Regions from separate parts of the Homo sapiens genome. Here regions 1, 2, 3, 4, 5 and 6 are each linked to region 7. Evidence: promoter capture Hi-C in 16 types of primary human blood cells and fetal thymus (Javierre and others, 2016). All regions are on one chromosome and are shown on one strand. Each heading gives the region's core, a stretch centred on a gene start or on the middle of the fragment in contact. The rest is flanking DNA. Distances are from core to core; before and after follow the strand shown. Region 1 has its middle 5.4 kb from the start of ZNF774. Region 2 has its middle 44 kb from the start of IDH2. Region 3 has its middle 13 kb from the start of ZNF774. Region 4 overlaps NGRN (neugrin, neurite outgrowth associated). Region 5 overlaps IDH2 (isocitrate dehydrogenase (NADP(+)) 2). Region 6 has its middle 26 kb from the start of ZNF774. Region 7 holds the start of HDDC3 (HD domain containing 3).

Region 1 (3,701 bases), core at 452-2,951, 590 kb before region 7:
CTAAAGTCCTCTGTAGTCCCTGTGGTAGTCAGCCTCTAAGGTGGCCCACTATGATGGTTAATTTTAGGTGTCAGCTGGGTGTGGTGGTTCAAGCCTGTAATCCCAGCACTTTGGGAGACTGAGGCAGGGGGCTCACTTGAGCCCAGGAGTTCAAGACCAGCCTCAGCAACATAGCAAGACCCCCTCTCTATAAAAAATTTTAAAATTAGCCAAGTGCAGTAGCACATGCCTATAGTCCTAGCTGCTTGGGAGGCTGAGGTGGAAGGATCACTTGAACCTGGGAGTTTGAGGCTGCAATGAACTATGATCACACCACTGCATGGAAGCCTGGGTAAGAGAGTGAGACCCTGTCTCTAAAAAAAAAGTTTCAGGTGTCAACTTGACTAGATTAAGGAATACCCAGATAGCTGAGAAAGCTTTATAGTTATGCCTGTAAGTGTGTTTGGAAGAGACTGGCATTTAAATCAGTAGACTGATAAGGAAGATCTGCCCTCACCCAGGGTGGATGGTAGCATCCACTCAGCTGAGGGCCCAGATAGTGCAAAAGGGCAGAGGAAAGGCGAATTTTCTCTCTCTCTCTTCTGAGCTGGGACACCCTTCTCCTGATGTTAGACATCAGAACTCCAGGTTCTTCAGCCTTCAGACTTCAGGACTTGCACCAGCAGCCCCTCAAGTTCTTGGGCCTTTGAACTTAAACTGACTCACACTACTGGCTTCCCTGGTTCTCTATATCTATATATCCTATTGATTCTTTCTCTCTGGAGAACCCAGACTAATACACTCACTGTGATCCTTGCCTCCAAGTATTCATACCTTTGTGTAGTCCCCTCCCACACTGTACCAGGGTTGGTCTGTGTGACCAAAGGAGTATGGCAGAAATGATGGTCTATCACTTCCAAGGTTAGATTGCAGCTTCTGCTTCTTTCTCTCAATCACTCACCCTGGGGAAGCCAGCTGACACGTTGTGAGGAGAAGCTACACGTGAGGAAACAGTCACATGAGGGAGCTTGGGAGCAAGCTGATCATCCAGCCCCAGTCAATCCTACAGATAACTGTAGTCCCAGCCAGTGTCTAGACTGCAACCTTGTGAGAGACCTTCAATTAGAGATACTCACCTAGGCTGTTCCAGATTCCTAATCAACAGAAATAAAATAATTTTTTTTGAGACAGGGTTTCACTCTGTCTTCCAGGCCAGAGTGCAGTGGTGCCATCCTGGCTCACTGCAGCCTCAATCTCCCCAGGCTCAAGTGATCCTCTTACCTCAGCTTCCCAGGTAGCTGAGACTACACGTACGCATCACCAAACCCAGCTGATTTTTTTATTTTTAGTAGAGACGAGGCCTTGCCATGTTGCCCAGGCTGGTCTTGAACTCCTGGGCTCAAGCAATCCTCCTGCCTCAGCTTCCCAAAGTGCTGGGATTACAGGCATAAGCCACTGCACCTGGCAAATGTTTTGTTTTGTTTTTTAAGGTAAGCAATTATTTCATTTCCTTGGTGAAGGGGTGGCCTGCCCCTCCACACCTGTGGGTATTTCTAGTCGGGTGGGACAAGAGACTGAGAAAACAAATAAGACACAGAGACAAAGTATAGAGAAACAACAGTGGGCCCAGGGGACCGGCACTCAACACACCAAGGACCTGCACTGGCACCGGCCTCTGAGTTCCCTCAGTTTTTATTGATTATTATTTTCATTATTTCAGCAAAAAGGAATGTAGTAGGAGAGCAGGGTGATAATAAGGAGAAGGTCAGCAAAAAACATGTGAGCAAAGGAATCTATGTCATAATTAAGTTCAAGGGAATGTACTATGACTGGACGTGCACGTAAGCCAGATTTATGTTTCTCTCCACCCAAACATCTCAGCGGAGTAAAGAATAACAAGGCAGCATTACTGCAAACATATCTCGCCTCCCACCATAGGGCGGTTTTTCTCCTATCTCAGAATTGAACAAATGTACAATCGGGTTTTATACCGAGACATTCAGTTCCCAGGGGCAGACAGGAGACAGTGGCCTTCCTCTATCTCAACTGCAAGAGGCTTTCCTCTTTTACTAATCCACCTCAGCACAGACCCTTTACGGGTGTCGGGCTGGGGGACAGTCAGGTCTTTCTCATCCCACGAGGCCATATTTCAGACTATCACACGGGGAGAAAACTTGGACAATACCCCGCTTTCAAGGGCAGAGGTCCCTGCAGCTTTCCACAGTACATTGTGCCCATGGCTTATTGAGACTAGAGAATGGCGATGACTTTCACCAAGTATACTGCTTGTAAACATTTTGTTAACAAGGCACGTCCTGCACAGCCCTGGATCACTTAAACCTTGATTTTATACAACACATGTTTTTGTGAGCTCCAAGTTGGGTCACAGTGGTTGGGTCAAAGTGGCTGGGGCAAAGCTACAAATTAACAACATCTCAGCAAAGCAATTGTTTAAAGTACAGGTCTTTTTCAAAATGGAGTCTCTTATGTCTTTCCTTTCTACATAGACACAGTAACAGTCTGATCTCTCTTTTCCCTTCACTTGGCCTGACAGCATTGACTTCATTACACAAGAACTTGCAGCTGACAGAACTGACACACAGATTTCCCCCAAGAGGAAGAACCCTTTTCATTTGCAGAGATGAATTGAAATGTCATGTCTGAGTGCAATTCCTGCTCCCCACTCCCACCCCACAAAATCCTATAAGTGATAATAAATCAATAAAATCCCCATGATTTACTAAAAGTCATCCCTGCAAACCTTTCTAACTAGCAGCTGCAGTGGATAACCAAGAAGGGAAGCAGCTGGCCATCACATAGCATTCCTGTGAGTGTGAGAATGAAGGGACAGCAGCATGGGAGCGAGAATCCTGAATGAGTGAGAGGTATAGATAATCTACCTCACTTCATACCTGCCCCTTCCCTACATAAGACATCTCTGTCCTGATACATGGAAAATACTAGAGGAGATGGTAGAAGTGGTTTTAGTCTGCAATTGGAAATGCCTGAAGCTTATTAAATTCCAAGGTAGGGGTGAGATGAGGAGCACCAGAGAGAAAGAGCAGGTTAGACAGAGATGCTCAACTCACTCTGTCAATTCCAGTTTAATGCTATTTAACAACAAAATTATCTTCTTAATCATAACCACCCTCATGCCTAACCCCTATTTTCCAAAGATAAGAGATCCCTGTCTAAATTTCTGGGTTGGTGTCTACTGCCGCCCCTGGGGTGGTACTGTGATGTTTGTGAGTGAGATTGCAACTGGGATGGGAGAAAAGAAGTGTGGGATACGGAAGATCGGGGGCCACGATGCATCAATTACAGTGGGTCTCTTTTCGTCCCCAGGTATGGCCCACTACCACAAGTCCCCTTTCCCTACCTGTCTTGTGCAACTGTCAAAAACAGAATCTCTGCCCAAAGAGAAGGGAGCACAGGGAGTTGCTGCTGGACTGCCATCATCTCTGACCCCAACTTGTCCACCTCCTGACCGACCTTTCTATGAAACTGCACAAAAATTAAATCTCAGGAATGCCATAAAATTACATCATCCCCATTCCTCTATCAAAGCCAATCCAACAGCTCTGTCCTGACATGCTTTCTCCCTGGGCCAAGGAAGCAACAAAAAATATCAGTTGAGCATGTGAAAATGCGTTGACGGTGTGTGCGGTGTAAAGTTTCTATATGTCTTCACCTTCTGTCTCCTCACGGTGGGAGCCGCCCTC
Region 2 (3,847 bases), core at 391-2,890, 790 kb before region 7:
CGCCCGGCTTTTTCGTATTTTTAATGGAGATGCGGTTTCACCATGTTGGCCAGGCTGGTCTCAAACTCCTGACCTCAGGTGACCCACCCGCCTCAGCCTCCCAAAGTGAAAGTGCTGGGATTACAGGTGTGAGCCACCGTGCCCGGCCTTTCTATGCTTTCTTGTCACATGAGCTACAGCTTTTACTGAAGGCTTGGGCAATAGAGGGGTGTACTGGGGTGTACTTAGTAGGAAAACAAACCATTTCAAAAAGAATAGTACAGATCCTGTTCTTAAAAGTCCTTTGAGGTCTGGCATGGTGGCTCATGCCTGTAATCCCAACACTTTGGGAGGCCAAGACAGGCAGATCACAAGGACAAGAGTTCGAGACCAGCCTGGCCAACATGGTGAAACCCCGTCTTTACTAAAAATTAAAGAATTAGCCGGGGGTGGTGGCATGCGCCCGTAGTCCCAGCTACTCAGGAGGCTGAGGCAGGAGAATTGCTTGAACCTGGGAGGCAGAAGCTGTAGTGAGCTGAGATCGCACCACTGTACTCCAGCCTGGGCCACAGAGCAAGACTCCATCACCAAAAAAAAAAAAAGAAAAGAAAAAAAAAAAGTCCTTCGAGGCTGGGTGCAGTGGCTCACTCCTGTGATCCCAACACTTTGGGAGGCTGAGGCGGGCGGATCACCTGAGGTTGGGAGTTCAAGACCAACATGACCAACATCGAGAAACTCCATCTTACTAAAAATACAAAATTAGCTGGGTGTGGCAGCACATGCCCGTAATCCGAGCTACTCGGGAGGCTGAGGTAGGAGAATCACTTGAACCCAGAGGCGGAGGTTGCAGTGAGCTGAGATCACGCCATTGCACTCCAGCCTGGGCAACAAGAGTCTCAAAAAAAAAAAAAAAGCCCTTTGGTCTCCCCGCCACTGTGAAATTCTCAGTGGACACATACCTCCCAGGCTCTGCCCTTGCCATTTTGTTTTCTCCCTCCCTCCTCCCTCCTTCACCCTTCATTTCTATGACCATCTTTCCATTTCTTCTTCTCTTTTGGGGTCCCTCGCCCCCAAGTTCCGGTTAACGTTCTCTGTAAAGCCGTTTGATTCCTCCTGTGTTTAAACATCTTCCTTCAACTATGTCCTTAGCACCTCCCCTTCCTCAACAAAAGTGGCTATCAAGATATTTTCCTAAACAAAAACCGGTCTCACCCTGCTAAATGCATTGGAAACTTACCACCTGGTGTATATATTGGCCTCCTGAGCAATTGATTAGTCTGAGTCCACAGCTGGGACCTGGCTCTCCTCTCCACCAGCTGCCAGGCGGAGGGCAGACCCAGGGCCCCAGGGGTGAATTTGTCAGGGCAAAGGCCTCTGTGGGCAGCCTCTTGGCAGCCTGCCAGTAGCCCCTTCTGGCAGCGTCCCACCTCTCCCGGCATCACAGATCAAGCCTCAGAAGAGCAGGGCCTAAGGAGAAAACCCGAGAGTGACGATGGCAAAGAGTGATCACAACACCCCAGGTGGGTGGACTCCGGGGGAACGCAGAGGTACTCGGGCCCAGAGCTGGTGGGAGAGGGGAGGTGATGGGAAACTGGACACCCAGAAAGTCCCACCAGCATGGAAATCCACTGGGGGGCTCAGCACCCCTGGAGAGGCACTGGGAGTTGGGAGGATCAAAGGAAAGACAGGGCTCTCACTGCCGGTGAATAGGACAAGCTGGGAAGGAAACAGACAATGCTTTCCAGGTTGGATTGCCAAGGCAGAGAGGCAAGAGAGGGGATGGAGAGAAGTCTTCAAAACTGCCATTCAAGGCCAGGCACAGTGGCTCTCCACCTGTAATCCCAACACTTTGGGAAGTTGAGGCAGGAGGATCGCTTGAGCCTAGGAGTTTGCGACCAGCCTGGGCAACATAGCAAGACCCCGTCTCTAAAAAAGTAGAAAACTTAGCAGGACATGGTGGTGTATGCCTATAGTCAGAGCTATTCAGAAGGCTGAGGTGAGAGGACTGTGTGAGCCCAGAACATCTAGGCTGCAGTGAGCTGACATCACACCACTACACTCATTCAGCCTGGACGACAAAGTGAGACCCTGTCACAAAAAAAGAAAAAAAAAAAAAACAGGCCAGGCATGGTTGCTCATGCTCATAATCCTAGCACTTTGGGAGTTTAAGGCAGGCAGATTGCCTGAGTTCAGTAGTTTGAGACCAGCCTGGCCAACATGGTGAAACCCGGTCTCTACTAAAAATACAAAAATTAGCCAGGCATGGTGGGGAGCACCTGTAATCCCAGCTACTCAGGAGGCTGAGGCATGAGAATCACTTGAACCTGGGAGGCGGAGGTTGCAGTGAGCTGAGATCGCACCACCGCACTCCAGCCTGGGTGAAAGAACTAGACTCCATTTCAAAACAAAACAAAAACCAAAAAACTGCTCTTCAATAAGCCCTTACCACGTGTCAGGCACTGAACACTGACAGCAGCTAACAATTACACTGACTTACTCCACACCAGGCTTGTTCTAAGCAGCTGCTGTCCAATAAACACATAATGCAAGCCACATAGGTAGTTTTGTTGTTGTTGTTAATGTTTGTTTTTGGGTTTTTTTTGAGATGGAGTTTCACTCTTGTTGCCCAGGCTGGAGTGCAATAGTGTGATCTTGGCTCACCGCAACCTCCGCCTCCCGGGTTCAAGTGACTCTCCTGCCTCAGCCTCCCGAGTAGCTGGGATTACAGGCATGTGCCACCATGCCCGGCTAATTTTGTATTTTTAGTGGAGATGGGGTTTCTCCATGTTGGTCAGGCTGGTCTCAAACTCCAGACCTCAGGTGATCCGCCCGCCTCGGCCTCCCAAAGTGCTAGGATTACAGGCGTGAGCCACTGCGCCTGGCCTAGTAGTTGTTTTTTAATTTATTAATTTACTTTTCACCATGGCAGAAAAGAGCGTAGTTTTAAAAACTCTAGTAGCTGCATTTTTAAAAGTAAAAACAAAAAACCCACTGGTGAAATTAATTGTAATAATATATTCTATTTAGACTGAGTGTGGTGGCTCACTCCTGTCCTCCCAGCAGTTTGGGAGGCTGAGGCAGGCAGATCACTTGAGGTCAGAAGTTCAAGACCAGCCTGGCCAATATGGGGAAAGCCCGTCTCTACCAAAAATACAAAAATTAGCCAGGCGTGATGGCATACGCCTGTAATCCCAGCTACTCAGGAGGCTGAGGCAGAAGAACCGGTTGAAGCCTGGAGGTGGAGGTTGCAGTGAGCCGAGATGGTGCCACTACACTCCAGCCTGGAGGTGGAGGTTGCAGTGAGCCGAGATGGTGCCACTACACTCCAGCCTGGGCAACAGAGTGAGACTCCATCTCAAAAACAAACAAACAAATAATATATTCTATGTATTACAATATATTCTATGTAACCCAATATAATCAATAATTAGGGAGTTATTTTACTTTTTTTTGAGACAGGGTCTCACTCTGTTGCCTAGACTGGAGTGTGGCACGATCACAACTCACTACATCCTTGACCTCCCCTAGGCTCAGGTGATCCTTCCACCTCAGCCTCCCGAGTAGTTGGGACTATAGGCGCGTACCACCAGGCCCTGATAATGTTTTGTATTTTTTGTAAAGATGGGGTTTCACGATGTTGCCCAGGCTGGTCTCAAACTCCTGGACTCAAACAATCCACCCACCTCAGCCTCCCAAAGTGCTGGGATTACAGGTATGAGCTATTGCACCTGGCCTTTTTTGTATGAAGTCTTCAAAATCCGATGTGAATTTATGCATACATCACATTTCAGGGTTTTTTTGTTTGTTTTGTTTTTTTGAGACAGGGTCTCACTCTGTCACCCTGGCTGGAGTGCAGTGGCACAATCAT
Region 3 (3,380 bases), core at 229-2,728, 570 kb before region 7:
CAAATGCAAGGGGTTAAGGAGGGAGCTGGGTAGTTATCACTTTTTAGAGTGCAAAGTGGTGGATTAAAGGTTTCTTTTCTTTCATTCTCTTCCATTATATGGAATGCCATCTGAGTGCTGTGGCTCATGAAGGATAGAACTCAGCTGATAACCTTACCTCAGTTTTTGAAAGCATCATTAGATAATTGACCAGAAAATTTTTTTTAGTTAATCCAGTGCAGTGGTTCTCAAACTGTGAGCCCAGTCCAGTAGCATCAGCATTATCTGGGAACTTTTTAGAAATGCAGATTCAGGCCGGGTGCAGTGGCTCACACCTGTAATCCCAGCACTCTAGGAGGCCGAGGCGGGTGGACCACCTGAGGTCAGGAGTTTGAGACCAGCCTGGCCAACATGGCAAAACCCCACCTATACTAAAAATACAAAAATTATCCAGGTGTGGTGGCATGTGCCTGTAATCCCACCAATTTGGGAGGCTGAGGCAGGAGAATCACTTGAACCCAGGAAATGGAGGCTGCAGTGAGCTGAGATCACACCTAGTCTCGAACTCCTCACCTCAGGTGATCTGCCTGCCTCAGCCTCCCAAAGTGCTGGGATTACAGGTGTGAGCCACCGTGCCTGGCCACCTATCATTTTGTTTGTTTTTCATGTTGTTCAGCTATTGTAAGATGTGAGGGTTTTTTTGTTTTTTGTTTTTTTTAGGTGAAGTCTTGCTCTGTTGCCCATGCTGGAGTGCAATGGCATGATCTTGGCTCACTGCAACCTCTGCCTCCCAGGTTCAAGCGATTCTCCTGCCTCAGCCTCCGGAGTAGCTGGGATTACAGATGCATGTCACCATGCCCAGCTAATTTTATATGTTAAGTAGAGACGGGGTTTCACCATGTTGGCCAGGCGGGTCTTGACCTCCTGACCTCAGGTGATCCACCTGCCTTGGCCTCCCAAAGTGCTGGGATTACAGGCGAGAGCCACCTCACCTGGCCACCTATCACTTTGATTTTCATGTTGTTTGGCTATGGTAAAATGTGAGCTCTCGAAGGGCAATGTGAGATTTGCTTTGTGGCCCTGCCAATCCCCTCCCTCCTCCCTGTCTTCCTGCCCACCCCCCCCCACTCCCCCGCCAGCCATGAGCAGGGAATATTTCAATGCTATTGCTGAGAGTGGAGGTAACCCTTTCTATAGTTTTCTTTTGTTTCTACCTCATGACTAGATGATTCACTGCTTGAACATGCTCCACACATCCGTTCTTTCTCACTCCAAAATTGAGGTCATCACCAAGCCCCATTAATTTTACCTCCCAGATTCCTCTCGAACCTATCTGTCAAATCTGTCCATCTTCACTGCCACCCTTCAGTACCAAATGACCAGTCTCTTACCTGAATTCCTGTAGCAGCCTCCAAACTGATCTTCCTGATATGATTTTTGCTCTGAAAAAACTGGTTTCACTCACAGAAACCAGAGTGAACTTTTAAAATCCTAAATCGAATCACATCACTTCTCAGCAGCTTTCCATTGCTTTTAGAATGAAGACCCAAATCCTTACCCAGGCCTAAGAGGCCCTTGTGGTTTTGTCCCCTCCCCCTCCATCCTCTTGTGATATCCCCTTCCCTCTCCCTTGCCTCACCTCAGCACTCTTGAGTTCTCTGCTCCTTGGTCATGCCAAGGTTGTGTGCTCTTTAGACCCTTGGTACTAACTGTTCCCTCTGCCCAGAATGTTCCTCGCCCAGTCCTTTGTGTTGCCTCCTATTTGTCAACCAGGTTTCAGCCTAAACCTATCTCCTTAGGAAGACTTTCCCTAACTATCCCATCTAAATTAGTCACCCTCCATCACATTATCCTCTTTTTTCATCAAAGTCCTTACACCTGTCTGGCAATTTCTTATTAATTGATTTGTTTTTGGTAAACTCCACGAAAGGTGGGAGTCATTTCTCTTGTTTCCATTCTTTCCACAGCACTTAGAACAGTGCCTGGCACATGGTAGGTGCTCAATATGTGTTTACTGGATGAATTAATGAGTGCATGCTCATGGGCAAGGATCTCATTGTGCTGGAAAAGCAGCAGAGTGAGACAAAACTGGACAGGTGAGTGAAGGTCACACCAAGAAGGTTCTTAGCTGCCAAACTAAAGGGTTTGGATCTTACTCTCTGGAGAAAAGGGTGTAGCTAGTGGTTTTATAGGAGAGGAGAGGCGCGATCCGCACTTGAGAAGGTCAATTTGGCCGCTGTGTGTAGGTCATATTACGGAGAAAAAAACTAAAGGCTTTGAGACAATCCATGATGTAAAGGGCTTAGCACAGTGCCCAGCACGCAGTAGGTCTCCAGCGAGTCGTTATCACCAAGCACCAGGGCAGGCACCACAACAAAAAGATAAGATCCCTAACCCTTCTTTTACCTCGAAATAATTCCTCCTAGACCCTATCATCGCATTCCTTCTCTTCCCCTTTTGTCAAACTTCCACTCACATGTAGATATTCTCAGGGTTATCATGCCTAGGCCTTTTTAATAGGGCCACTTACCCTAGCATGCTTCTACAACTGGACCCTCAAAGGTCTTTTAGGGCTGAGTGTGGTGGCTCACACCTGTAATGCCAGCATTTTGGGAGGCCGAAGCCAGAGGACTGCTTGAGCCCAGAGGTTCAAGACCAGCCTGGGCACCATAGCCAGACCCTGTCTCTACAAAAAATAGTTTCAACAAATTAGCCAGGCATGGTGATGTGCGCCTGTCATCCCAAGTACTTGGGAGGCTGAGGTGGGAGGATTGCGGATTGCCTGAGCCCAGGAGTTCAAGGCTGCAGTGAGCTGTGATCATACCACCGTACTCCAGATTGCGTGACAGAGCTAGAACTTGTCTCTTAAAAAAAAAAAAAGACTTAATTTCCACATCTGAAGGCCTCTTGTTAGTCTTCTTCTGATTCAACAACTCTTTACTGTTTGATGCCATTTACATATGTTTATTATTTTTTAGAGATGGGGTCTCATTCTTTTGCTGAGGCTGGAGAGCAGTGGTGCGATCATGGCTCACTGCAGCCTCAACCTCCCAGACTCAAGCAATCCTCCTGTCTCAGCCTCCTGAGTAACAGCTAGGACTACAGGCACATGCCACCAAGCCCGGCCTTTTAAAATTTTTGGTAGAGGCCAGGTGTGGTGGCTCATGCTTGTAATCCCAGCACTTTGGGAGGTCCAGGCGAGTGGATCACCTGAGGTCAGGAGTTTGAGACCAGCATGGCTAATATGGTGAAACCCCGTCTCTAGTAAAAGTACAAAAATTAGCCAGGCGTGGTCGTGGGCGCCTGTGATCCCAGCTACTCGGGAGGCTGAGGCAGGAGAATCACTTGAACCTGGGAGGCGGAGGTTGCAGTGAGCTGAGATCGTGTCATTGCACTCCAGC
Region 4 (3,917 bases), core at 223-2,722, 660 kb before region 7:
AAATCCATCAGTGACTTCCTCAGTGCTAGGCTCAAAAAGACACTTTGTAGTCCTTAGCGTCCTAAATAATTCAGCAGCATTTGCCCTTGTAAAAACTGCCTTTTAAATTAAAATATATATATATATTTTAAATAAAGACAGGATTTTGCCATGTTGCCCAACCTGGTCTCCAGTTTCTGAGCTCAAGCGATCTGCCTGCCTTGGCCTCCCAAAGTGTTAGGATTACAGGTGTGAGCTACTGCACCCAGCTGAAACTGCTTTCTCCCACCCCCCCCCCCCCATTATTTATTTATTGATTGACACTGATTCTCTCTTTTTTTTTTTTTTTTTTTTTTGAGACGGAGTCTCATTCTGCTGCCAGGCTGGAGTGCAGTGGCATGATCTTGGCTCACTGCAACCTCTGCCTCCTGGGTTCAAGTGATTGTCGTGCCTCAGCCTTCCAAGTAGATGGAATTACAGGTGCACACCACTATACCTGGCTAATTTTTTTTTTTTTTTTTTTTTTTTTGGATTTTTAGTAGAGGTTGGGTTCAGCGTGTTGGCCAGGCTGGTCTTGAACTCCTGACCTCAAGTGATCTGCCTGCCTTAGCCTCCCAAAAGTGCTGGGATTACAGGCGGGCGTGAGCCACCATACCCAGCCTTTTTTTATTTTTATTATTTTAATTTTACTTTAAGTTCTGGGGTACATGTGCAGAATGTGCAGGTTTGTTATATAGGTGTACATGTGCCATGGTGAACTGCTTTCTTAAAATTCTCTTCTCCCTTGACTCCAGGGTACCATTCCCTTCTGATCTTTTTTTCTTTGTTTCTAGGGCTGCTTTTCTCAGTTTCCTTCCTGGGCTCCTCTTCTACCTCCTATATCTTAAATATTGTTATTTCATAGAGTTCTGTCCTTGTCATTTTAGTTCACTCTGCATATTTCCCTGCCTGATGCTAGCCACTCAGTCACCCCTGCTATTGGCTTATGACTTCCAAATCTGTCATCTCCAGTTCATGTTTTTTTTCCTGAAATCTAAAGGCATATATTCAACTGTGTACCAGACATCTCTGTTTTGGATATCACAGTTTCCTCAAACTCAGCATGTACAAAATAGAATTCATCGTTGTTCCCTGACAACTTCATTCTGTTCCTGTTTTTCCTATAACCTACTGATTACCCAAGCTAAAATCCTGCATCTTGGCCTTGATGATGCTTCCCCCAATATTTAGTCCCTTAGTACCAAGTTGTACTATTTGACTTTCTTAAAATATTTCTCAACTCACTTTCCTCCTATGCTCCATTGACTGTCTCACTCGAGACTATCTGGATTACTGTAAAAGCCTCTTGACCAATCTTTCTGCCTATACTTTTGTCACTGAAAAACTACCACTAGGTTGAATTCCTTTTTTTCTTTTTTTAATAGAGATGGGATCTCCCTGTTTCCCAGGCTGGTCTCGAACTCCTGGGCTCAAGCAATCCTCCTGCCTCAGCCTCTCAAAGTGCTGGGAGTGAGCCATTGTGCCAGGCTGTAGGTTGAACTTCAAAATGAAAATTTATCTGTGGCATTCCACTGCTTAAAATTTTTCCTTGACTTGCTGTTGCCTTGGGATAAACTCCAGACCCCTAAGTGTGATCTACTTCTTACCCTCACTGTCAGTTGAGTTATTCCCAACAAAGGTGATGTGCCGCTTTACATTTCACAAGCTCTTCACTTTATCATCAGTATCTTTCATCTCTCCTTCTCTCCTCCCTTCTGCCAGCTTATTACTCCTTTCATCCTTTCAGACCAACTCTAGCTTGGACTTCATGAAGCAATTCCTGGGCCTGGCTATAAGTGTTCTTATTCCCTATATCTGGGTCTCCCTCCTGGGGTGCTGTCTTTGCATCCTGTGCTATAACCTTTACCATAATGTCATTTATTTTGTCTGTCCCCACTCCCAAACTATGTAATGGGAAGGTCAGTCCTCCTGCGTCCCCAGGATCTATTGTGGTATTAGATGTCAGTGAGAGGAGCTGAGTTGATGTGAAATGAAGTGACCTGACTGACAGTGGTCAGGTGTTGCTGTTGACACACAGAAATGGAACACAGCCATTTAACTAGCACAAGATAGGGACTAGCACAAGATTTAGCTAGCACAAGATAGGGACTACATTTGCGGTTTTTCAAGCTCTCTTTTTTTGTTTTTTTGGGAGAGTCTCACTCTGTTGCCCAGGCTGGAGTGCAGTGGTGCAGTGGTGCAATCTCGGCTCACCGCAGCCTTCACCTCCCAGGTTCAAGTGATTCTTGTGCCACGTGGTAGCTCATGCCTGTAATCCCAGCTACTTCGGAGGCTCAGGCACAAGAATCACTGGTCTCGAACTCCTGGGCTCAAGTGATCCGCCTATCTCGGCCTCTCAGAGTTCTGGGATTACAGGTGTGAGCCACCATGCCAGGCCTCAACCCCTCTTCTTTATCATAGGTATTGCGAGTTAGATGTTCTGATAGGAGACTTCTTCACAACTTGCAAACCTGCTCCTTCTTCCCGTAGGTATTTACATGAGGAATTTCCAGAGTCCTGGTCAGTTCCCAGGTTGGCTGAAGGCTTTGATGTCAGCACTGATGTGATCCGAAGAGTTTTAAAAAGCAAGTTTTTACCCACATTGGAGCAGAAGCTGAAGCAGGATCAAAAAGTCCTTAAGAAAGCTGGGCTTGCCCACTCGCTGCAGCACCTCCGGGGCTCTGGAAATACCTCAAAGCTGCTCCCTGCAGGCCACTCTGTATCAGGCTCTTTGCTTATGCCAGGGCATGAAGCCTCATCTAAAGACCCAAATCACAGCACAGCTTTGAAAGTGATAGAGTCAGACACTCACAGGACAAATACACCAAGGAGAAGGAAGGGAAGAAATAAAGAAATCCAGGACCTGGAGGAGAGCTTTGTGCCTGTTGCTGCACCCCTAGGTCATCCAAGAGAGCTGCAGAAGTACTCCAGTGATTCTGAGAGCCCCAGAGGAACTGGCAGTGGTGCGTTGCCAAGTGGTCAGAAGCTGGAGGAGTTGAAGGCAGAGGAGCCAGATAACTTCAGCAGCAAAGTAGTGCAGAGGGGCCGAGAGTTCTTTGACAGCAACGGGAACTTCCTGTACAGAATTTGAGTCGGGGCTTGGCTTATGGAGATGCCTCGTGAAACACAGCTGGGCAAGTATTAATGTATATGGAACAGCCTGGATTTCTGCATATGGATAAGCCACCTTGGAATAGGAAGAGGTGTTGAGCCTGGACTGTGGGAGGAAAGAGCTGCGTGGATAGATTCAAACTTCCTGTGGTAGTGCTCCCAGTCTGACCTCTGTAGACCTTCAGTACTCACTCTTCTTGCTTAGGCTCTCTGTGTGTTGAAAGCCATCCCGTGTTGCATGTGTTGTTACAATTTTCTGTGATACTTGCAATTTATGTTTGAGAAGAAGTGAAAAGTTTGCCTTCTGACCTCATTTCCTTCTTGATCAGTGAACACTAACATTTTGGGGACAACTTAGTCAATTGGTTTTCCTTACAACAAAATAAAGTAAAATGTAGCAGTCTGCCTCTTTGGTGCTCTTTGGGGTGGGATGGTTTACCTGTGAACCTTGGAGAGAGGGAAGGACAAAGGCAGAAAGGAAGGATCCCTGGTCAGTAAACATTGGGAGAGAGATGGAACCAGAGGAATTTCCCAGCAAAGGGCTCTGTGCAGAGCATCCTGCTTAGTGAGGGATTCTGACAACTGAAAACTGGACGCCTTTCTTTTAGTTGCTGGGGTTCTGGCAGAGATTGGGAAATGAGGGGTTGGCAGAAAATACAAAGCAGGCAAAGGCTTTAGGGCCCTTATAATCTCCAGCCACATTTTAAAGTTTATATTAAGAGCTGGGCATGGCAGAATGTGCCTACAGTCCCAGTTACTTGGGAGGCCGAGGTGGGAGAATCGCTTGA
Region 5 (3,845 bases), core at 1,001-3,500, 830 kb before region 7:
GGAGCCCTAAGGAGAGACTCACTTGGGGCCAGTTCTTCAGGTTTCAGCCTCAGCCTGGGCTCCACGGTTGGGCTTCAGGCAGGCATGGCTAGGAGAGTTCAAGGTCAAGATCAAAGACCTGATGTGTCAAACCCTCAGAGACCACAGGACCTGATTATTTACTCACCGGCAGGTGCTAACTAAGCACTTATCCAGTACCCCACTGGGATACTGAAATGCCTAAAACACAACAGTGCCTGCCCGGAGGCAGTGAATGTGGAAGGGGAAACCTACAGGTAACAGAGAGAGAGCAAGCAGGGCTGTCACCAAAGTCAGGAGTGCCCAGGCCTCCCTGGAAGCAAACATCCCAGGGGAACTGAGAACAGCAACATGAGCCAAGGCCAGCAGAGACTTGTTCTGCTTGTTCCAGGTACTGGTTTTTTAAAAAAATCTTAATTGGTGACCAAGTTTTAAAAATCAGTAAATCTCAACAATAAAACAAATAACTCAACGTTAAAATGGACAGAAGACTGGCTGGGCACCGTGGCTCATGCCTGTAATCCCAGCACTTTGGAAGGCTGAAGAGGGCAGATCACTTGAGGTCAGGAGTTCGAGACCAGCCTGGCCACAATGGTGAAACTCTGTGTCTACTAAAAATAGAAAAAAAATTAGCCTGGTGTGGTGACACACACCTGTAGTCCCAGCTATTTGGGAGGCTGAGGCAGGAGAATTGCTTGAACCCAGGAGGTGGAGGTTGCAGTGAGCAGAGATCATGCCACTGCACTCCAGCCTGGGTAACAGGAAGACTCCATCTCAAAATAAATAAATAAATATAATGGACAAAAGACTTAAATAGACATTTCAAGTCCAAAGATGATATACAAATGGCCAACAAGCACATGAAAAGATGCTCAACATCACTAATCATCAGGGAAATGCAAATCAAAACCATAATGAGATATCACCCCACTATCCCCTCACAACCACTAAGAGAGCTACTATCAGGAAAAGAAAAACAAAACAGAAAATAAAGTGCTAGCAAGGATGTGGAGAAATTGGAACTCTTGTGCCCTGTTGGTGGGAATGTGAAATGGTGCAGCTGCTGTGGAAAACAGTATGGGTGTTCCTTAGCTAAAAGGAAAAGAATTACTGCCGGGCACGGTGGCTCGCACCTGTAATCCCAGCACTGTGGAAGGCTGAGGCGGGTGGATCACGAGGTCAGAAGATCGAGACCATCCTGGCTAACACAGTGAAACCCTGACTCTACTAAAAATACAAAAAATTAGCCAGGCGTGGTGGCAGGCGCCTGTAGTCCCAGCTACTGGGGAGGCTGAGGCAGGAGAATGGCATGAACCCGGGAGGCGGAGCTTGCAGTGAGCTGAGATCGCGCCACTGCACTCCAGCATGGGCGAAAGAGAGCAAGACTCCGTCTCGAAAAAAAAAAAGAAAAGAAAAGGACAAGAATTACTATATGATCCAGCAATTCTGCTTCTGTATATACATCCAAAAATATCGAAAGCGGGGTCTGAAAGAGATATATGTATGCCCACATTCATAGCAGCAATGTTCACAACAGCAAAAGATAGAAGCAACCCACGTGTCCATCACAGATGAATGGATAAAGACAATGTGATACAGTCCCCCCTTATCAAAGGTTTTATTTCCATGACGTCAGTTACCTGTGGTGTCAGTTACCCACAGTCAACCATAGTCTGAAAATAGGTGAGTACAGTACAGTAAGATATTTTAAGAGATCACATTCATGTAACTTTCATTACAGTATATTGTTATAATTGTTCTATTTTATTACTAGTTATTATTGCTAATCTCTTACTGTTCCTAATTCATAAATTAAACTTTATCATAGATCTGTATGTATAGGAAAAAAACATAGTATCTACAGGCTTTGCAGTTTCAGGTATCCACTGGGGATCTTGAAATGCATCCTCCAAGGATAAGGGGGACTACTGTTATCTACATACAATGGAATATGATTCAGCCTTGAAAAGAAGGGAAATTCTGACACCTGCTACAAAGTGGATGAACCTGGGGGGCATTATGCTAACTAAGTGAAATAAACCAGTCACAAAAGACAAATACTATATGCTTCTACTTACATGAGGTACCTAGAATAGTCAAATTCATAGAAACAGAAAGTAAAAAGGTGGCTGCCAGGGACTGGGGACGGGAAGTGGGGAGGTATTGTTTCATGGGTAGAGAGTTTCGGTTTTGCAAGGTGACAAAGTTCTGGTGATGGATGGTGGTAATGTCTGCACAACAGTGCGAATGTACTTAACAATACTGTACACTGAACAATGACTAAGATGGTAAGTTTTATACGTTTTTTACCAAAATAATAAAAATTTAAACCAGTCAAAAAAAATCAGGAGATTTTATATAAAAATCTAGAAATGCAGCAGGCACTCACTCATGGCAAGGATGGGCTGGGCTGAAGGCGGCCTCTCCCTTCACTCCATGACAGCCAAGTGCCCTCCAGTGTGGCCCAGGGCACTGGAGTTTGAGACCCCTGTCTGCTGTTCAGCCTGTATGGTGGAGATACAGCCATGGTCTGCCCTTCTCTGAGAGATAAGTGGTGACAAGCTACCTGAAATACACAGAGCAGCAGCTAGGCCTCCCTGAAAACCTCCGAAGTGACAGCCACCACGAATCTTCAGCTGATGCATTGCACAAACACTGTCCTCTTGGCGAGAGTGCAGGATGGAATTACACCAGTCACCAGAGGCACGTTAGGCTGACTCTCCTCCCTGTCTGGGGCTCCTAGCACCCAATACCAAGTAAGGATTTCAAAACACATCCCTGGCTTCTTGCTGCTCCCAGCAGGAGGCTAGAGGTCCAGCCGCAGGCAGCCAGCCCCAGGCATAACTGCTCCCTCCACATTCCTACCCATGCTCTCAGCAGAAAGGCTGCTCAGTCAGCATGTCCCAGCAAAAGATCAGAGAGTGGGGAAAGGTTCCAATTCCTGGGGGCTCAAGAAGGCAGGACAGCAACTTTGTATATTTTATGTATGTATGTATGTATGTATGCATGCATGTATGTATGTATGTATGTATGTATGTATTGAGACAGAGTCTCACTCTGTCGCCTACACTGGAGGGCAGTGGCGTGATCTCGGCTCACTGCAAGCTCCACCTCCTGGGTTCAGGCAATTCTCCTGCCTCAGCCCCTGAGTAGCTGGGACTACAGGCGCCTGCCACCACACCCAGCTAATTTTTGTATTTTTAGTAGAGACCGGGTTTCACCATGGTGGCCAGGCAGGTCTCGAACTCCTGGCCCCAACTGATCCGCCTGCTTCGGCCTCCCAAAGTCCTGGGAGCCACCGCACGCGGCCAGAACAGCCATTTTGGAACAAACTCTAGTAGACTCCTTGGTGTCATCCTTCATTCCTTCCCTTCTCTCACATCCAAACCACCAAAACCAGAAGCCACCCTCAGACAAGCCCACCCTTGCCATAAGTGAGTGCCTGCTGCGTATCTAGATTTTTATGTAAAATCGCCTGAATTGGAACCTTTCCCCACTACTGGCTCCTCCTTCAAAATATATCCAGAATCCAACCACTTCTTCACCATCCCCAGCGCCACCACCCAGGTCCAAGCCATCATCCTCTCTTGCCAGGTCCCTGAAGCTAGAATGCTCCCGATAAGATGGAAATCAGGTAACGATACTCCTCTCAAAACCCTGCAAAGTAAAAGCGAAAGCTCTCAAAAATGGCCTGTGAGCCCTCTACAGACCCCACTGCCGAACCTCATCCTGTCACTCCACCTGGTGCCTGCTGAGCCAGCCTTCGCACCATCCTCTCTGCTCTTCCATCATGCCCTTGGCACCTGCGAGTCCCTCTTCCCCCAATA
Region 6 (3,835 bases), core at 217-2,716, 610 kb before region 7:
TATAATCCTAGCACTCTGGGAGGCCAAGGTGAGGTGGACAACTTGAGGTCAGGAGTTCGAGACCAAGGTGACAACATGGTGAAATCCCCGTCTCTACTAAAAAGACAAAATTAGCAGGGGGTGGTGGTGCATGCCTGTAATCCCAGCTACTTGGGAGGCTATTATTTTTAGTAATAATAATAATTTAGTAATTTTTGTATTTTGTATTTTCACCATGTTGGTCAGGCTTGTCTTGAACTCCTGACCTCAGGTGATTCACCCACCTCGGCCTCCCAAAGTGCTGGGATTACAGGTGTGAGCCACCACGCCCCGCCACCAAAACCAGTTTTATTGAGGCAGCAGTGTTACCGCTCTGTAACTGCTCCTGCAGGAAGAGCTAGCCCATAGTCAGTGTGTGGAGAGTAGCAGCTAAGGGGCAGTTCCACAGTCATATTTATACCCACTTTTAATTACATGCAAATTAAGGGATGGGTTTTTCAGAAATTTCTAGGAAAAGGGTATAACTCCCAGGTTGTTGCCATGGAAAGGGGCAGTAACTTCTGGGTGTTGCCAGGGCACTGGTAAACTGACATGGCACTGGTGGGCATGTGTTATGGAGAGGTGCTTTCCCCTCTTCCCTGTTTCAGCTAGTCTTCAATCTGGCCTGGAGTACAGGCCTGCCTCCTGCCTCACAACTGCTGCTAATCAGGATGTATACTGAGGGTAACTTGACTCTATGCTCCCAGTTTGCAATATCTAGCTTGGCCCAAATAGATCCTCTGTCTTACTATTGTTATTTATTTTTTTTTAAGAGAAAAGGTCTTGCTCCTGTTGCCCAGACTGGAGTGCAGTGGCAGGATCTTAGCTCACCATAACCTCGAACTCCTGGGCTCAAGCAATCCTCCTGCTTCAGCCTCCTGAGTAGCTGGGACTACAGACATGAGCCACCATGCCTGGCTAATTTTTAAATTTTTTGTACAGATGGGGTTTCACTATGCTGCCCAGGCTGTTCTCAAACTCCTGGCAAGCAATCCTCCCAACTCAGCCTCCCAGAATCCTCGATTACAGGAGTGTACCACTATGCCCAGCCCCAGATAAATTCTCTACTTATATTAATTTTGCTTCAGCTTCCTTCTAGGTTGACAGTTCCCAGTTGACTCTCAAAATGTTTGTGAAATTAAGCAATTTCACTGGGGCATGGTGGCTCACACCTGTAATCCCAGCACTTTGGGAGGCCCAGGTGGGCAGATCTCTTGAGGTCAAGAGTTTGAGACCAGACTGGCCAACATGGTAAAACCCTGTTTCTACTAAAAATCCAAAAAAAAAAAAAAAAAAAAAAAGTCAACCAGGCATGGTAGCGCACGCCTGTAATCCCAGCTACTCGGGAGGTTGAGGTGGGAGAATCACTTGAACCCAAGAGGCGGAGGTTGCAGTGAGCCGAGATCATGCCACTGCCCTTCAGCCTGGGCAACAGAGAGAGACTTCATTTAAAAAAAAAAAGGCAATTTATTTAGTGATGTAAAAGTTTTCATGGATATATAAGGGAATCAGGGAGTCCTCAAGGCGGAAGAAGGTGAAGGAACAGAGCAGGGGAGGAAGAGGAGGGAGGAGAATCTCCCCCAGGCTGAGCAGACCAGGGCACTGAGCTCCAGATGTTTGCACCCCTCCTTTGTTTTCCCCATCTCTTCCCTACTCTCCAGGCCAGTCAGATGGCAAGGCCTGGACAACTGGAAGGAAAGAGAATGAAGGATGGAACTGGGGCGGCAGCTGTGTTGGCCACACAGGCCCTTCTGACTGGGCAGCATGGAGGCCACTTCTGCCAGCCTGAGAGTTGCAGAAGTAGATGGCAGGGAATCCCCTGCTTGGGGATGACACAGTAGGTAGATTAGAAAGTTGGAGAACAGGAACCGTAAGCCACTAGCAGGAACATGGTTGAAGAGCCGACCGTGGAGTCCAGACTGAGGGAGGAGGTAGAAAAGGAACAATAAGCAAGGAAGCAGAGGAGGCTGTGGCAAGGATAATGGGCAGCCCCAGTTATTCTAAGGGAAAAGGAGAGATGGAGTTGAGAGGCTGAAATGGAAGCAGCTCTGTGATGTGGCTGGCCTTTCGAGGTTACTGGAGCAGAGGAGGTAAAGGGACCATGAGCACAGGTGGTGGTGCTGTAATTAATAAGGATGAGGCCGGGCACGGTGGCTCACACCTGTAATCCCAGCACTTCAGGAGGCCACGGCAGGTGGATCACTTGAGGTCAGGAGTTCTAGACCAGCCTGGCCAACGTGGTGAAACCCCATCTCTACTAAAAATACAAAAAATTAGCTGGGTGTGTGGCGGGCACCTATAATCCCAACTACTCAGGGGGCTGAGGCAGGAGAATCACTTGAACCCGGGACACGGAGGTTGCAGCAAGCTGAGATCGTGCCATTGGACTCCAGCCTGGGCGACAATAGCGAAACTCCGTCCCCCCACCAAAAAAAATAATAAAATAAATAAGTATGCTGAAGCCACTGAGGATGAGAGCAAGACACTGGGATAAGGGGAGCCTGGTAGCCAGGTCCTAAAGCCATTCCAGAGGGCTGCAGAATGGCCCAGAGAAGAAGTTCTCAGCTAAGGCATGGCACTAATGACTAATCGATGGTTGTAATCATTTCTTCCTTTTTTTTTTTTTTTGAAACAAGGTCTTGCTCTGTCACCCAGGCTGGAGTGCAGTGGCACAATCATGGCTCACTACAGCCTTGACTCCTGGGTTCAAGCAATCCCCCTTCCTTAGCTTCCCAAAGTAGCATTACAATCAGCACCAGGAATTGAGCCCAGCTGAACTGAGCCACCATACGCATAGCAACTACAATTGAAATCTAGATGGGCGTGCTGTGCGTGAGGCAGGTGTTGGTAGGTCAGGCTACAAATTAAGTCTCAATCAATATTATTTTATTTTATTTTTTGAGACAGGTGAAATCTGAGAACATTATAAGTGAAATAAGCCAGTCAGACAAAGACAAATACTGTACGAGTCAGCTTATATGAGGTACTTAGAGTAGTTAAAATCTTAGAGGCCAGGCATAGTGGCTCACACCTGTAATCCCAGCACTTTGGGAGGCCGAGGTGGGAGGATTGCTTGAGCCCAGCAGTTTGACGCTAGCCTGAGCAACATAGTGAGACCCTCTCTCTCCAAAAATAAAATAAAATAGAATAAAATAAAATAAAATAGTCAGGCATGGTGGCACACGCTTGTAATCCCAGGTATTCCAGAAACTGAGGTGGGAGGATAACTTGAACCTGGGAGGTCAAGGCTGCAGTGAGCTATGATCACACCATTGTATTCCAGCCTGAGCAACAGAGCGAGACCCTGTTTCAAAAGAATAAAAAATAAAAACATTATAGAGACAGAAAATATGACGATAATTGCCGGGGGCTGGGGACAGGGGAAAGTGGGGAGTTATTGCTTAATGGGTATAGAGTTTCAGTTTTACAAGATGAAAAGAGTTCTGCAGATGTGTGGTGGTGATGGTTGTGCAACATTATGAATGTACTTACTGAACTGTATACTTCAAAACAGTTAAGCTGGTAAATTTTATGTTTTGTGTATTTTGCCAAAATTTTATAAAAAATTAAAAAAATAAAATCATTGGAGGCTGAGGCACGAGGATTACTGGAGCCCAGGAGTTCGTGAGCAGCCTGGGCAACACATCGAGACCTCATCTCTACAAAAAGTTAACAATTAGCTGGGTGTGGTGGTACGCACCTGTAGTCCTTGCTACTTAGGAGGCTGACATGGGAGGATCACTTGAGCCCAGGAGTTCATGACCAGTCTGGGCAATACAGCAAGACCCTGTCTCAAAAGGAAATAAAATATAATAAG
Region 7 (3,928 bases), core at 1,057-3,556:
CGCGCGGCTTGAGGTACTGGGGAACCGGAATCCCCCACCGGCCCAATCATGTTGCTGCTGGGGTCTCTCCGGTGCCCAGCAGTGGTTGTCAGTAAGCGGGCGGCACTCCCTTCCGATACGTCTTTTCTTTTTTCATTTTTGAGACGGAGTCTCGCTGTGTCACCCAAGCTGGAGTGCAGTGGCGCGATCTCGGCTCAGTACAAACTCCGCCTCCCGGGTTCAAGCGAGTCTCCTGCCTCAGCCTCCTGAGTAGCTGGGATTACAGGCGCGAGCCACTGCGCCCGGCTAATTTTTTTTTGTATTTTTAGTAGAGACGGGGCCTCGCCATGCTGGCCAGGCTGGTCTTGAACTCCTGACCTCAAGTGATCCGCCCGCCTCGGTCTCCCAGAGTGCTGGGATTACAGGCGAGAGACACCGCGCCTGGCCCCCTTCCAACTTTCTTAACGGGAAAGGCTGCTACCATTTCTTGAGCACCTATGTGTCAGGCTCCATCAGGCACGTCACAGTCTAACCTGATAATTACACAACCCATGTCACTGACAAGGAAGCCAGGTTCGGAGGGGTTGAGGCCCGCAACCTGAGGGAGGTGACTCCGGGACACACAATTAGTCCTGCTTTGCTGAAGGAAAGATATGCAGCCCACCAGTCGGAGGCTGGAGAAGGAGCAGCAGCAGCTTAAACCTTAACCCAGAGTTATTTTTATTTTCCAGAACGTGTTAGGAACTAGTACTTAAATAATCTCAAGTCCCTGAGGGGCCAGAGATCCCACCATGCAAAATAGCAAACAGACCCAAGACTTGGGGAGAGGCGGTGAGTGCATCAGAAATGGATGGGTACATCTGATTCCCACCACGCGGGGCTCAGCTTAGTTAGCAGGAGACCTTCAGACTGAGAAAAAATGCAAGTCTTTTTTTGGCCTCTAATATCTGGGAAGGATGGAGGGAGCTCAGGAGACACAGAAAAGATGGCGTATGAATCCTGTCCGGCCTGAACGAGGCTGGAGTTGTGCCTCTGGATAGCTTCAAGCACTGATCAGATTGTCAGCCCCCGCTGCTTGAACAGATGCTTTAGAGCCTCTTCCAGTTGCCGGTTTGTTCCCTGAAGCCCCTTCACCACCTGCGCTGCCCACTCGAAGTATTCCTGGACTCGATGTTCTGACCATCCTGCATAAGAGTCGACAGAAACTTGCTAGCGTGATGTCAAGGAAAGCACTGCCTTTTCCCCACTTCCTGGCAAGCTTGGTTCAAGGCCATGAGTTCCTGATGGAATGAGCTGTCCTGAAAACTTCCCCTTGGCCCAGCTATTGTATTTTTACTGTATGAAAGAAGATCAAAGAGTGGTCCAGTAGGATTAATTTGGGAATTAAGAATGCCCAGGGTTTTTCAGGGGAACTGACCAACATGTGTCTTCAGAAGGCGGCATCCCCCTCCCTTTTCCCTTACAGCCCATACGAAAGCGTACCCTCTGGGGTGCAGCGATTCAGGTCCCTCAGATTGTACAGCTTGTCTGCCAGCTTCACCAGTTTGGCCCCGGGGCTACTGTGGGGCGCTTGCTCCACCTGCAGCCTCTTTCTCTCCAGCTTGGGCAGAGTCTTGTCATCTGTTACCTCCTCCACCAGGCGCCGCACTTGTGCCCCAAAGTGTAGCTCCACCTCATCCAGGGTGGTGTCTGTGTCCTCCACCGTGTCATGGAGCAGGGCCGCCTGGGGACAAGTTCCCACTCAGCCCTGAGATGTCAGCCAAGGGTTGCCCATTGCTGAATGGGGCCCCTAATCCCCATCCCAGGCTCCTGGCAGAGAAGGGGGAAAGTTACCTGTAACACCACAATGTCAGTGATTCCCGCCTCGTGGGTCAGGATCCGTGCCACACCTGACGGGGAGGGGCAAAGCAGGAAGTCAGGTCGGAGGTAGTCCCAAGGCGGTGTGTTGTGGGTTTTGGAGAGCCAGATGTGGCCCCTTGTGGACTCTGACTAGCTGGGTGACCTTGGTCAAGTACCTTACCCTCTGGGAGCCAACCGACAAAGGGAACGATCATGCCTACCGTTCCAATTGTTATGAGGCTTAAACGGTATATCGCACTAAGCTTGGGACAAAACAGGTGCTCAATGAGGTGCACGCCCCCCACGTTTCCTTCCCAGTCCCCACCACCCAGGTGCCGCAGCCGGCGCTCCGCGGCCGACGCGCCCACCGATGGGGTGGTTGATGTAGGGGGTCCCCTCGGGGTCCTTCCGCCGCTGCTGCCGGTGCTTGCGAGCCGCGAAGTCGGCAGCCTCCAGCAGCTGCGCCGCCTCAGAGCCCATCGCGCGGATGGGGCCGACGACTGCGGCCGCAGGGGCAGGGACGGAACGTTTACAGCGCCCCCTGGCGCCGGGGAGGCCCGGGGATCGTGGAGGCTAATTCAGCGGGCCGAGTTGGGCCTGCCCCAGATGAATTCCTCTGGAGCTGACCGGCCCGCGCAGAGAGCAAGTGATGTGGACAGCTGCCTTCAGCATCGCAGCCCCCAGCTCAGTGTGCTCTGTTGGGGGTGCAAGAAGAACATAAGCCTGGCTCTTTGGGAGCCCACAGTCTGTGGAAAAGAGGAAGACAGACAAGAAATAAGGCAGTGGCCTCACAGTGCTCTGAATCCAGGGTGGCCAAGGCTCAGGGGACTATGGGAGCGGGAAGAAAGAACAATCCCCACACCCTCAGAGTCAGAGACAGCTTCTCCCAGAAGCTCCCCCCAAGAACCATCTTCAACCTGTAAAAGCTCTGAAAATTCTCCAAGTGTTCTAAAAATAGTTCTCCCTGTAGGGATGGGCCAGGTTCTGTGGGCAGGGGAGTCTACCTTTGGACCCTCCAGGAGACCCTAGGGCCTGACCTGAAAAATCAGAGCCTTCCCTGGGAGCCCTGCCTAATTGCTTCAGACTTAGGCTCCCAGGTAGCTGTGACGTTTCTGCAGGAACTGCCTTTGTTTGTCCTCAGTGTTGCAGATGAAATTTGCCTTGTCTTCTTATGCTATGAGAGCTCCTATTTCAGTCTCTAGGCATCTTCTGTGGGCCCCTGGGGTGATGAGTGTTGTCACTGCTGTCCTGGGAGCATGATGTTGTCAGGCCTGGGTAGGCACTGGAATAACACTTAATTCTGCTGGCTGGTGGCCTTCTGGAGAAATTCCCTGCCTTAGGGGCAGCTGAGGGGTAAGAGAGACCTGGTGATCCCCATAGAACTTCTCTGTGAGAGGGGGTTCCCTATTAGCTAAGTATACTCTAATCAGACATGTAGCTTTTGTGTTCTGGCTGGTAGCTGGGGCAGATAAGGCTCAGGGGAAAGGCTAATGAAAGGAGTCACCCTTGGTTTTCAGCTAGTCTTGGTGGTTGCCACGTAGCAGAGGTTAGGGAGGGAAGCCCCACATGCTGGAACTGAGGTCTCTGGGACCTGAAATAGGAGGGTCAGAATTCCCAGAGCTTCCATGGCAGCCTGGAAGTTGGAGAATGGGTAGAAACATATTTGGCTGTAAATGCTTGTTTGTTCTTCATACTAATGGCTCAGCTGCTCTCTCATCCCTCATTCTGTCCTCTAGTCCTTTGAGCCTTCTCTCCTTCAGCAGTTTGGCAATGCAGGCCCCACGTTTTCCAACAGGAGACAGAAACCCAGTCCCTGTCATCTCTCTCTAAAAGCCTGTGATAGAGAAGCTTCAGGCTCGTATTAATGGTGCCCAAGGGCCTTGGGGCTTTGACTTTTATTTCCTTATTGTCTGCAGTCACGGCCTAGAAAGAGAGATGTTGGGGTTCCCAGGACCAGGACAGAGGTGGTAGTGAACTCTCATGGGCATCCAGAGAAGGTCAGGCCCCTTGCTGACAGGCCTATCTGTGGGGCTACTGCTGCTCTTCAGCTGGGTGACCCTTGTCCAGCCAACCTCTCTCTCAGGTACAGCACTTACCCCTGTGGCCCACC

Evidence for each region. Contacts are between HindIII fragments. The CHiCAGO score rates a contact against its expected background, and 5 or more counts as called.
Region 1: a contact is called between a fragment that was not itself captured here and the fragment with the promoter of HDDC3 in region 7, in 1 of 17 cell types (naive B cells). The highest score is 5.1, in naive B cells.
Region 2: a contact is called between a fragment that was not itself captured here and the fragment with the promoter of HDDC3 in region 7, in 1 of 17 cell types (erythroblasts). The highest score is 5.2, in erythroblasts.
Region 3: a fragment that was not itself captured here is called in contact with the fragment with the promoter of HDDC3 in region 7 in 1 of 17 cell types (naive B cells); the score reaches 5.8 in naive B cells.
Region 4: a contact is called between a fragment that was not itself captured here and the fragment with the promoter of HDDC3 in region 7, in 3 of 17 cell types (total CD4 T cells, fetal thymus and naive CD8 T cells). The highest score is 6.6, in total CD4 T cells.
Region 5: a fragment that was not itself captured here is called in contact with the fragment with the promoter of HDDC3 in region 7 in 2 of 17 cell types (total CD4 T cells and fetal thymus); the score reaches 6.0 in total CD4 T cells.
Region 6: a fragment that was not itself captured here is called in contact with the fragment with the promoter of HDDC3 in region 7 in 7 of 17 cell types (total B cells, naive CD8 T cells, total CD4 T cells and 4 more); the score reaches 9.0 in total B cells.

The regions. Positions count from the first base shown.
Region 1 is chr15:90,345,067-90,348,767 of GRCh38, forward strand. It overlaps the pseudogene GABARAPL3. Among named protein-coding and RNA genes, the nearest start is that of ZNF774, 5.4 kb to the right of the region's middle. The HindIII fragment of the contact is 2,574 bases long and covers 415-2,988 here.
Region 2 is chr15:90,144,111-90,147,957 of GRCh38, forward strand. No RefSeq gene overlaps it. Among named protein-coding and RNA genes, the nearest start is that of IDH2, 44 kb to the left of the region's middle. The HindIII fragment of the contact is 7,167 bases long and covers 1-3,847 here.
Region 3 is chr15:90,363,234-90,366,613 of GRCh38, forward strand. No RefSeq gene overlaps it. Among named protein-coding and RNA genes, the nearest start is that of ZNF774, 13 kb to the left of the region's middle. The HindIII fragment of the contact is 7,636 bases long and covers 1-3,380 here.
Region 4 is chr15:90,268,680-90,272,596 of GRCh38, forward strand. NGRN (neugrin, neurite outgrowth associated) reads left to right here. Exons shown (of 3, transcript NM_001033088.3): 3 at 2,509-3,532. The coding sequence ends at 3,109. Among named protein-coding and RNA genes, the nearest start is that of NGRN, 5.0 kb to the left of the region's middle. The HindIII fragment of the contact is 6,495 bases long and covers 1-3,917 here.
Region 5 is chr15:90,095,504-90,099,348 of GRCh38, forward strand. All of the region lies in intron 1 of IDH2 (isocitrate dehydrogenase (NADP(+)) 2), which reads right to left. Among named protein-coding and RNA genes, the nearest start is that of IDH2-DT, 4.7 kb to the right of the region's middle. RefSeq lists an enhancer at 1-447. The HindIII fragment of the contact is 4,798 bases long and covers 1-3,845 here.
Region 6 is chr15:90,324,042-90,327,876 of GRCh38, forward strand. No RefSeq gene overlaps it. Among named protein-coding and RNA genes, the nearest start is that of ZNF774, 26 kb to the right of the region's middle. The HindIII fragment of the contact is 8,593 bases long and covers 1-3,835 here.
Region 7 is chr15:90,930,243-90,934,170 of GRCh38, forward strand. It overlaps HDDC3 (HD domain containing 3), which reads right to left and starts at 2,307. Exons shown (of 4, transcript NM_001286451.2): 1 at 2,187-2,307; 2 at 1,813-1,868; 3 at 1,462-1,702; 4 at 1-1,163. The coding sequence starts at 2,298. The coding sequence ends at 1,033. It also overlaps a transcript of UNC45A not described here. RefSeq lists enhancers at 1,475-1,704, 2,455-2,504. The HindIII fragment of the contact is 1,585 bases long and covers 2,080-3,664 here.